3 separate regions of the Homo sapiens genome follow, and regions 1 and 3 are each linked to region 2. Evidence: promoter capture Hi-C in 16 types of primary human blood cells and fetal thymus (Javierre and others, 2016). All regions are on one chromosome and are shown on one strand. Each heading gives the region's core, a stretch centred on a gene start or on the middle of the fragment in contact. The rest is flanking DNA. Distances are from core to core; before and after follow the strand shown.

What was found. Contacts are between HindIII fragments. The CHiCAGO score rates a contact against its expected background, and 5 or more counts as called.
Region 1: a fragment that was not itself captured here is called in contact with the fragment with the promoter of TMEM131L in region 2 in 4 of 17 cell types (total B cells, naive B cells, fetal thymus and 1 more); the score reaches 11.3 in total B cells.
Region 3: a fragment that was not itself captured here is called in contact with the fragment with the promoter of TMEM131L in region 2 in 1 of 17 cell types (fetal thymus); the score reaches 5.2 in fetal thymus.

Annotation. Positions count from the first base shown.
Region 1 is chr4:152,846,760-152,850,356 of GRCh38, reverse strand. All of the region lies in intron 2 of ARFIP1 (ARF interacting protein 1), which reads right to left. Among named protein-coding and RNA genes, the nearest start is that of ARFIP1, 69 kb to the right of the region's middle. RefSeq lists an enhancer at 2,652-3,152. The HindIII fragment of the contact is 1,321 bases long and covers 839-2,159 here.
Region 2 is chr4:153,464,680-153,468,077 of GRCh38, reverse strand. It overlaps TMEM131L (transmembrane 131 like), which reads right to left and starts at 1,718. Exons shown (of 35, transcript NM_001131007.2): 1 at 1,557-1,718; 2 at 797-867. The coding sequence starts at 1,680. RefSeq lists enhancers at 28-87, 458-547, 42-707, 2,078-2,257 and silencers at 1,018-1,377, 1,748-1,847, 1,888-2,037. The HindIII fragment of the contact is 8,794 bases long and covers 168-3,398 here.
Region 3 is chr4:152,782,046-152,785,513 of GRCh38, reverse strand. All of the region lies in intron 1 of ARFIP1 (ARF interacting protein 1), which reads right to left. Among named protein-coding and RNA genes, the nearest start is that of ARFIP1, 3.8 kb to the right of the region's middle. The HindIII fragment of the contact is 2,116 bases long and covers 620-2,735 here.

The DNA.
Region 1 (3,597 bases), core at 250-2,749, 620 kb after region 2:
TTTCTAACCTTTTGCATGTTGGTGGGCACATTTTCAGGAAATGATTATAGATGTTCAGTTAGCAATTCCTTCCAAGCTGATATATTCGCTGTCTAGGCTGAAAGTTTTCACCGATCATTAAAAATACAGTCCACTAATGTTATGGTAGGTAGTAAGTTGCTATATTTTAAAATATAAATTGTAAAACACTTAAAATCTGTTCCATGAGCCTGCCTACCTATGCTGATGCAGAATGACAGGGGATAGTAATAATGATATGTAAAGGTATGTGATTTTATTTTCCCTCCGTATACTTGCAGAAATGCGTAAAATTGGTAATCTGGATCAGGTTTGGGAATCTGTAGTTGGACAACATGCCAAAAAAGTGTCAGGGCAGATAAAAGACATTTTAGACTTAGTATAACCCAATCTACACCTTAGTCTCAGATTTCATTAACATCTTCATTTCTAATGCCTTTCATCTTTCATACCCCATATTCCACTCAGGCAACCTAAACTCAAATTGCCACTCTTAGACCTTGTCATCACTTCGGAAGCAACACTTCTAGATTCTCACTTTAAATAAGTTTAATAACTCACTTTATGATCACAATATCCTCCTGTATCTTATTCCATCTAATCAAGAGAGTAAATCTAACATTTTTATTGATTTTTTTCCATTTACCACCATACACACACACACCTGCCTGCCACAGACACACAATTTCAATCTTCTTTTCTCCCTCTCTCCCATTCATTCAACAATATTTAACAAGAACTTACAAGTACCTTTTGGTGGTTCACTGCCTACCCTCTTGGCCTCACCCACTTAGTCTAGATTCTAAGTAGTTCAAAAGCTTGAATCATGTACCAACTTGCATCAAAGAAATACTGAATTCATTCACATACTATCACTGTGGAAATATTTATATGTATCTACATTCAAAATAATTCCTTCAAAAAATTTAAAAACGACATATTCCTAATAGCTTTTGTTTATAAATAACGACACACTCTCAGATTATAATTTAAGACAGATAAGCCTTCAACCTTTCATTATGAATTGTATTTTCAACAAAATTCCTCCAAGAAATAAAAAAAAACATATTACTAATAGCTTTTGTTTATAAATAAGGGCACACTCTCAGATTATAATTAAGACAGATAAGCCTTCAACCTTTCATTATGAATTGTATTTTCAACAGGACTCTCAATCCAGAATTAATTTAATGTATGTGTATATTAAAAATATACTTAAAATTTTAATTTGTAGTAATAGTATTAAAAGTATAGCCTATAGCTGAAAAGCAAACAGTATTAAAATGAATCTAGATTTGTATGGGTTAAACAATCCTTGAAAACCATTTGCCATACCTCTAAAAGGGATCAACATACATATTTGGTCAAAACTGGCTCTCTGAAAAAGCCCCCATCAAATCATTATTGCCATTGACCGAGCTACTACATTTTTTATGTGTGAGTAACGTGGAAACATTATATTGCATTCCTATATAGAATGGAGACAAACTGTAATCACATGCTATGAAAACCCTAGGGTAGGATGGCTGAAGGAGAAAAGATGTCAACTTTTAAGTCTATTTACTAGAATTCATTCTTTTATTGAGCAACTACTATGAACCAAAACTTGTGCTGTGTATACACACTATCTCTGACCTAACAGTGATTCCAATCTCTTGGGAAAAGGAGATAAATAAGTTACAACATGTGACTGGTGGGGGTAGGAGTTGGAGGAACAGTGTTCCAACAATTTCTTGTATTTCTTTCCCAAATCTTCTGCAGATCGTAGTGTATGATATTGCAGACTGCTAAGTACAAGGGAATGAAGAAACGACTTAGCTCAACAAAATCATTAAAAATAAAACTATAACAACAAAGACTCACACTCACAAACCCAAATACCACATGCAGGGAAATTAAGGACACAAGATGTATCAAATATAAGATTACAATATCTCTTCCCTGGTTTTTCAGAGAAGTCTAAAAATCTGGTTTCTAGTCCTCGTCCTCGTTCTTACGTGAATAAACATTCATTTATTCACCATTTATTGAAAGGCCCTCTTTGGTAGTAAGTGCCAAAAACTGTTACCAAACCCTGGAAATAAGGTAATGAAAGAGAGCGCTCTTGCACTCACTGCAGTTATAGTCAAATCACATAAGCTTTTGGTACAGCTATTTAATTAATACTGGGTAATTCCATAACAACTTCAAGGGCCTTTTTTCTCCACTATAAAATAACATAGTGAGACTCCGAGATCTCTAAGGTAGTTCTACTGAACGAATACTCTGTGATATCACTTAAAACTTACAGGTGGGGGGTTCTTAAGACTCAGGGAACCTGAGAACCCTTATGCAGGGTTCAGGGGGTCCTAAGCTCACTAAATCTGAATGCAAAATTTGGTAGGTTTGTGTATGGACATTTTGCTAGAGAAAGTGTTCATAGGTAAAAACACCCTACATTAGTGGATTTTTGTTTTGGGCCTTCCACGGGAAAAATTCCATTTTAGCTAGGTCTAAGGAGGCAATGTCTTTAAATCTACCAACTATAAATTAATTCACAAGAAGTTTCAACCATGTGGAGTTAGTATGATTTGCTTCTGCTCTTAAACTCATGGTATGAGTTGCAAATTTCTAATTAATTTTGACCAGCACTATAACAGCATCCATTACAAATACTACACACAGTTTACAAATCAGAGTAATTTGAATTATTTAGATTAAATTGTAATACTCTTTTTTAAAAGAATAATTTTTAAAAGAATAATTTTAAAGAATAATTCTTAAAATAATAATTTTATTTTTATTTTCTAAATAAAATGCATTTATTTAGAAGCAGAAATATTTTTGCTGTAAAAAACTGAGATAATACTAAGATGATTATCCTCTCCACATCTGGCTGTTGCTGCCCCATCTTAATAAAAAGAAGACACCGGGTGCAGTGGCTCATGCCTGTAATCCCAGCACTTTGGGGGACCAGGGCAGGAGGATCACCTGAGGTCAAGAGTTCAAGACCAGCCTGGCCAACATGGCGAAACCCTGTCACCACTGAAAATACAAAAATTAGCCGGGCGTGGTGGCACATGACTGTGGTCCCAGCTACTTGGGAGGCTGAGGCAGGAGAACAGCTTGAACCTGGGAGGCGGAGGTTGCAGTGAGCCGAGATCACACCATTGCACTCCGGCCTGGGGGCGACAGAGTGAGACTCTGTCTCAAAAAAAAAAAAAAAAAAAAAAAAGAACAAACCTAAAAACATTAACATACGAGGCAATGACTAAACTGCTGGCAAAGGGATTGCTAGGACAAAATCATCTCTACATAGATGTGAATATTGAGTGTAAAGCTAACCAGGGCCTCTCTTAGGACAGACTAAGAAAGGAAGTAAAATGAAAAATCAAATATCTGCAATGAGAAACACAAACAAGAACAAAAAAAAAAAATTGTAATTTCATTGCCTGTGCCACAGTGACACCAGCTGGCCAGCCAGGTTACGACAACGTAATAACCTACCACTTTTATTTTATGTAACAGACTAAACTTTTAAAAGTGCATTATGCATTCAACAAAAGCCATTATAAGATTTTAAACAAGTATAAAAGAAAC
Region 2 (3,398 bases), core at 469-2,968:
TAAAAAGTACTGCACACAAGCTAAATATTTCCTTATAATTCAAGCCACTCCCACCCAAAAAATGCATTTTGGATCACTACCGTTACTGGTGAAAGGCAGTCAACAACATTATATTTAAATGTGCACACTTCACAGTCAATGGGAATTTCTTGTAAAAGTTAAAAGCTTTGCAGTACTGTATCTGTTGCAGCAATAAACCCTCTATGATGCTACAGATTCCCAATAAAACGTCAGTAATTATTTTTCTACACGCAATCATCATATCATCATACAGAGAAAAAAACCAGAAATTCAAGTTCTTAAGTGGGTGTATTTTAACAGGAATTAAGGGCACTTGGAGAAAATCCAAGATGACAATCCTTGAGAGTCACATCTCCATCCCAAAGCTACTTAACGCTAATGGCAAATACCACTCTAACATTTATGAAATCAATACTCCTGTTGTCCTCAACCTCTTAGCCACTTGCCATCCACACAGCACCAGCTCACTTAGGGAACAGTGTGCACCCAGGACACCCACGGCCGAACAGACCGCTGGCCGCTTCCCTGCTGAGGTGGCCTGGGTTCCCACCTTCTGAACTTGGGGCCGGCCTGCCTCAGGCCCTGTCACATGGCGTGGGAGGAGCCGGGAAGGCCACCGTTGCCAGGTGTTCAGGCTCGGCCCCTAACGTTTATTTGCCTTGCAAAGTGGCCCGAACGCCTGTGCCGCTTGGACAGGGGGTGGGGAGGACCGGGGGCCTCCCCGCCTCTCCTCCCTCGTACACCCACAGCCGCCCTGTCACCTGGTCGTCCTCACCTGAGTGGGCAGCAGGAGTTCCCCTTCTTCTGCCTGCCACAGCTCCACCACGTTCGGCAACGGCTCAATCGCTGCAGGAACACCAAAAAATACACCACGTTTTTAATGCACGCTAAAGAAACGCTTCCTGTTTCCCCTACCGTCCCTCCGTGCCCCCCGCCTCACCAAAACACGTCTCTTTTTCCTCCTGGGAACAGAGGCCATCCCAGGGGCGAGCCAAGGATAAAAATACAATGGGTGGGGTGTGAGCCGGCGGCCCCTCGGACGCGAAGGCGACAGCGTGCAGGCAGGCTCGGGGTGCTCGTGCTGGGGGTGGGGGGACGAAGTGGGAGTGAAGACACCCCACGAGGCACTCCGGGCTCCGCAGCCCGAGCATCTGGAGTGTGGACCCTGGGCGGCCAGGCTCGGGGGAACAAAGCTGCAGGAAGCCGGGCCGCTGCGGGGCACCCGCGCGCGCCACACAAAGCGGGGGCTGCGCCCGGGGCGCAGGGGCCCGCGCACAAAGGCTCCAGGGCGCGAGCGGCTAGCGGTCCCCAAGCCCCGCGACTGCCCCGCTCTCCAGCTGTACGGGGCAGAGAGGCGCGGGACGGGACGCTGTGGTCAGAAAATGTTATCAGCGGAGAATCGCAACAGCTTTCCTTCCTCCTCCTGCCCCTTTCCCTTTCCTCCCCTCGCCCTCTTATAGATTTCAGCAGTTCCCTAAAAGAAAGAGCGGGGGCGGGGTGGAGAGGCAGAGCGAGCCCAGCGGCGCAAGGCTGACCTTGTCCCTGAGCCCCTCCCGGGCGACAGCAGGGCAGCAGGACCTGGAAGACGCCCAGCAGGAGGTTCACGGCCGCCGCGGTGCGGCAGTAGCAGCCGGGCTGCGGGCGTCGGAGCCCCGCCATGCTGCTGCTCGCGCTCCTCTCCGTTGCTCGCCGCGCTCGCCGCTAGCTCGCTGGCGCCCCAGCTGCCTCGCCCCGGGCCCGCCCCCGTGCCGCCCCGCCCCGCCCCGCCCCGCCCCGCCCCGCCCCGCGCCGCACCACCCCCGCCGCTGCCGCAGCTGCTGCAGCTCCAGACCCGGGCGCGCCGCTTGCTCTGAGCGCGTGTGCGCCGCAGATAGGGAGGGACGGAACGCGGCGGGGTGCGGGGGAAAGTGGACAATGCGAACCCGCGGGTGCCCCGCCCCGGCGCGGAGCACATGGCCGCGGGCCCGCCCCGCAGCGCGCACTCTGCGGGGCCCGGGCGCTTTCCTCGGCTGGGACGGGGTCGCTTAGAGCTGTCCGCGGGGACTAGCGGCCCACTTTTGCCAAGTGCATTTTCATGAACTTTTGGGTGGTTGCCGCTTTGTCGAGGCGCTTGGGCCACGGTCGAGAGATTACCCTCGAGGGAAGAGGTGGCGGTGGAGGTGGGAACGAGGAGTCGCCAAGCGAGAGGCCTTGGACACAGGATATTAGTGGAAATAATGCAGTGGTTGTCAGGAAACGCGAGTGCAGCCACATGGCCACTGCCAGTTATGCAGCGAGGATATCCGGTGGCTGCAAAGTCTGTAATTTAGAATAAAAAGAGCTCTCCCAAAACCCGAGAGGCAGACCTCAGCGCCGCGTGGCGGTAGTGCGCCCGGCACCCTCTGTGGACACTGTCCAGGTCCTGACAGGTGGGGAAGACTCTTCCTAGGGGATTTATAGCTTCAAAGACCCTGCAAATACTCCCTTTTGGAATCATATTGCAAAATTCAGCCAGCCTCTCCTGAAATATGGTTGGGGTCGAGGATGTGGTTAGTTGCCTGTTTCTAACATTAGTAGGATAATGGAAGTAATACGTGGAAATACATTTCCTAGTTCCAGGTTTTGATGCCTATAACTAACAAGTCCAAAATCTGGCATCTCTTTAAGTTAACATCCTGCCTTTACCAGCGATGTCGCAAACAAGGGCTTATTCAGAAATCAATTTGCATAACCTAGAAGTATGGGCAATCTTATGATTTTTTAAAGTTAACTTACTGCTTCCACTGTAGCTTGTATGAAATTCAGAGAATATGAACAATATAGTATGAAGAGGGGAAGTGATGGGACACACCTGTTTACCTTAATCCTCTGTTTAATTGCTCCTTGTGCCTTACAAGCCAGACTATAGAAAACCAGTGCTTGCATAGCAGACACAATCCTGAGAAGGACAAAATGAAATCTAGATCCTCTTTCCTAAAGACGTAATACAGTACTGTGAACACAGTCTCACACACTGTCTGCATTTAACTCCAAACAAGGTTAAATAGTCTAATTGCTTGGCCAGACTTAACATTTAAGTAGATTAGCATAAACGTAAGTTGTTGATGTGAAAAAAAAAAAGGGACACTTTGCATTTTCCAACTTGAATACCTCCAGTAGTCTCTGTTTCATACTTTTTTCTGTATTCCTTGCCAACATCTTCCTTTATTTAGCAAGGATCTCCAGTGCCATCTCAATGTGCCCTTTTTTTCTCTTCACTTCTCCAAGTTTCTATTTGCCCCTTGGATTCTGAAGGTCCCCCACGCAGTTAAAGGGACCTCCAGTGACAGGAATATTTGCACAGCCCACTTAAGCAGTAACTGCACCTTCAAAGTTTGCTTCTAAATGAAAGTTCTCTC
Region 3 (3,468 bases), core at 428-2,927, 680 kb after region 2:
CTGGGCAATATATAGCACTGAAACAAAACAGATAAGGTCCTGGCCATTTTAGAGATTACAGATCACGGGCTTAAACCCAGGGGCTCTTTCCACTGAGGGTATAAATTCCTGATCCATCCCTTTTTAGGTATGTGACCCTGGACAAAGCACTTTACCTAAATCTCAATTTCTTTATTTCTAATGTGGTGATGTTATCTGCTCTACCTATTTGGTATGGCTGGAGTAAAAATAAAATGAGGATGTATGTGAAAGTGCTTTGTAAATTATTACATGCTAAACAAACAGAAGGTATTAAACAGAGTAACATATTCCTTTTCTCTAGGGCAAAGATTTCCAAACAGTGTGCCAAGAATGGATTACAGATGTGCTGAAATTGTGACCCATTCCCCCACTCCACAGCTTCCAAGGAACCAAGGAGGGCCTGGCTCTAGTCTGCCATACAATTATAATCATTTTTTATGTGTGCCATGATGAGTATCTCAGGCTAGCAGAAACTGGAGTTGGCGAACTGACTCCCTCCTCTGGAAGATTTAGGGCTTACCACTAACTCTGCTGCTTTTATGATCCTGTTCCAAAGGCAGTATGTCACTGTTCCCCAGGGACCAATGAGGCTCAAGCTTCAACATCAAGGAGCTGCTAGTCCAATGCTATCACAGATATACAAAAATAAAATATAAATTCTTATCTTAGGTGAGAACATGGTAAAGACACTGCCATATTTTCACAAAAGATTTGAGCAATTGCCTGTTTTGCAACTACCTTCAGATCCCCAAATCTTTGTCTTTCAAGAGAGGATCTGATTTTTTCCAAATACCCAAAGTTATTCAGATTCTGGTGACTGAGGTCACGAAGTGACGAAGCCAGGCAAGAACTTCATTTTTGTATGTCTCAATCTGAACCGACAGTCATACTAGAAGAAGATTTCAAAGCAGATTGCCTACTCTGAAAAACAGCATTCACTTAAATAAGTATGTTCATTAAGGGAAAAAAGTGTATTTCATAAAGAGACTTTATATTCCTTTTTCAGGAACAACTAAAGGTTTGAGCAACACCTGCCTATGCCCATCCTAAGACAAAGGCTTAGAAGGAATGGAGGAGAATGGAATGAGAGATGGGAGAAAGAGGAGAATAGGAATAAAGGAAAAAGAAAAAGAAAATAAATACTTTTGTCTCATAAAGAATATCTGTTAATCTGCAAGAGCCATTCGGCAGCTTCCATGACTGCCAAAAGCTACTAAAGATCAAGGAAAACAAAATTATTTTCAGGCCAATAGTCTTTTTCATACATCCAGAAGTAGTGCTACATATCTGACTTTTAGATTGTCATGATCCTAAGTCATCAACTTCCATATTAAGTGGAACAACTCACTTTCCATTCTGTACAAATATTTTAGTTTTTCATCCATAACCATATTAAAGTTTCCTGTTTAATTTACTCCTTCTTCCATTCTGAATTTATTCTTTCCATCCCAAATGTATTATTCTAAAATTTATTTATACTTCCAGACTCTTACAATGCCCAGTTTATTACTTATAATCTTCATTTTCACATTTTCCCCTCCTCATATACACACACACCATCTGCTTATTATTTGAATCTTCATTTCAAGAATTTATAATACTTACAATTCTTTATTTCAAGTAGGTGTGTGTGTTCTAACACACACACACACACACACCAGAGACTTATATCCATCCCCATAGGAAACCCCTACCAACTGCCTCCACCAAATTCACTTTTTTGTCAAACTTCTCAGTATGATATTCAACCAGATGTTCATCCACTGAAGATTAAGAAAGGAAACAACCTTTTCTCAACACCTGATAGAAAGTCAGGTGATATATCTCCAACTCATTTCAAAAAGGACATAATGGACGCATGGTAGAAGTTGTCTACAGTAGTAGTCTAGAGTCAGACAACGTAGGTGGAGCCATGCACTGGCTCCACCAGCGCAATTCTGAGCAGACTACTTTAGCTTCAGTTAATCATTCAGCTTTATTTTCTTCACCTACAGAAATGAGGACTTTAGCCACTTTATAAGGTTATCATTTGAGATAATAATGTAAAGCACTTAGCTTAATGCACATGGTAAGCAAATAAATGTAACTGTTACAGTGTTAGATATAAAATATCTTCCGAATTTGTCATTACCTTAAAAGGAAACTAATTTAGCATAAGCTAGTCTGTTGTTGATGTTGTTTTTGAGATGGAGTCTCACTCTGTTGGCCAGGCTGGAGTGAAGTGGTGGGATCTTGGCTTACTGCAGCCTCCGCCTCCTGGGTTCAAGCGATTCTCCTGCCTCAGCCCCTCCCAAGTAGCTGGGACTACAGGCATGCAACACACACCCGGCTAATTTTTTTATTTTTAGGAGAGATGGGGTTTCACCATGTTGGCCAGGTTTTGAACTCCTGACATCAAGTGATCCACCCGCCACAGCCTCCCAAAGTGTTGGGATTACAGGTGTGAGGCACCGTGCCCAGCCTAGCATACGCTATTCTCTATAAACTTATGTTGACTGCTCCCCCAAGTGAGGTTGCTAGACAGAGGAAAACTTATTCTGTGAGCAGAAGAAACTGGATACTCATGATAGACTATGATGAGCTGTATAGGTCTCTTCAAGTTAACATTCTAAAAAAAAAAGTATCAGACCTTTAGAACTGCAACCCTCAATCAACAAATAATTCACAACCAAATCAGTAAGTTCAAATATGTACTCTAAAACTTACATTAAGCTTGGAAGGATACTAACGTATTCACAAGAGAGAAACAATCATTAAAATATCTCATACAGAATGGAGGGAAAGGGGATGTCAAGATAAGCAACAACATTCCAAAGGACCACACCACTGAAACATCTTGTTTGTTTTTCATAGCAAAGCCAAATCAAATCCTAAGGTACATGCCTCAAGCAAAAAAAATTAAGAAAATGAAAGCAAAATACAACTAGAATTTAAATTTTTTACTCTGAACTGTGCCTAGTTGGTTGGTGATATTTAATACATATTAAAGATAGGCACATCAGTTTGTAAATCCACTGGATCTCCAGAGCATGGACCACAAACAGCTATCCCTAAGAAGAAACCTCAAAACCACAAATCAGGAAATAAAGTGGGCAGCCTCATTTCCTTCTGTAAGTCTAGGAAGGAATTTAGAAACACTAATGTTTTAAAGGAGAGATTTCAATATCAAACTAGAAGAATCCCTGCATTCTCCTTTCCTTGGTCCCAAAGCAAACAATTTACAGTTTGGGAAAACACACACACACACACACACACACACACACACACACCCCTACCTGTTTTCACTAACTTCAACAAGACACTGCCTAAGTGGTGGTTTTAATCTATCAAGAAGCTATATATCTCCTTTGCACAGTTTGGGAAAGCACACACACATACACACCTGTTTTCACTAACTTCAACAAGATACTGCCTAAGTGGAAAACACACACACACATACACACACAA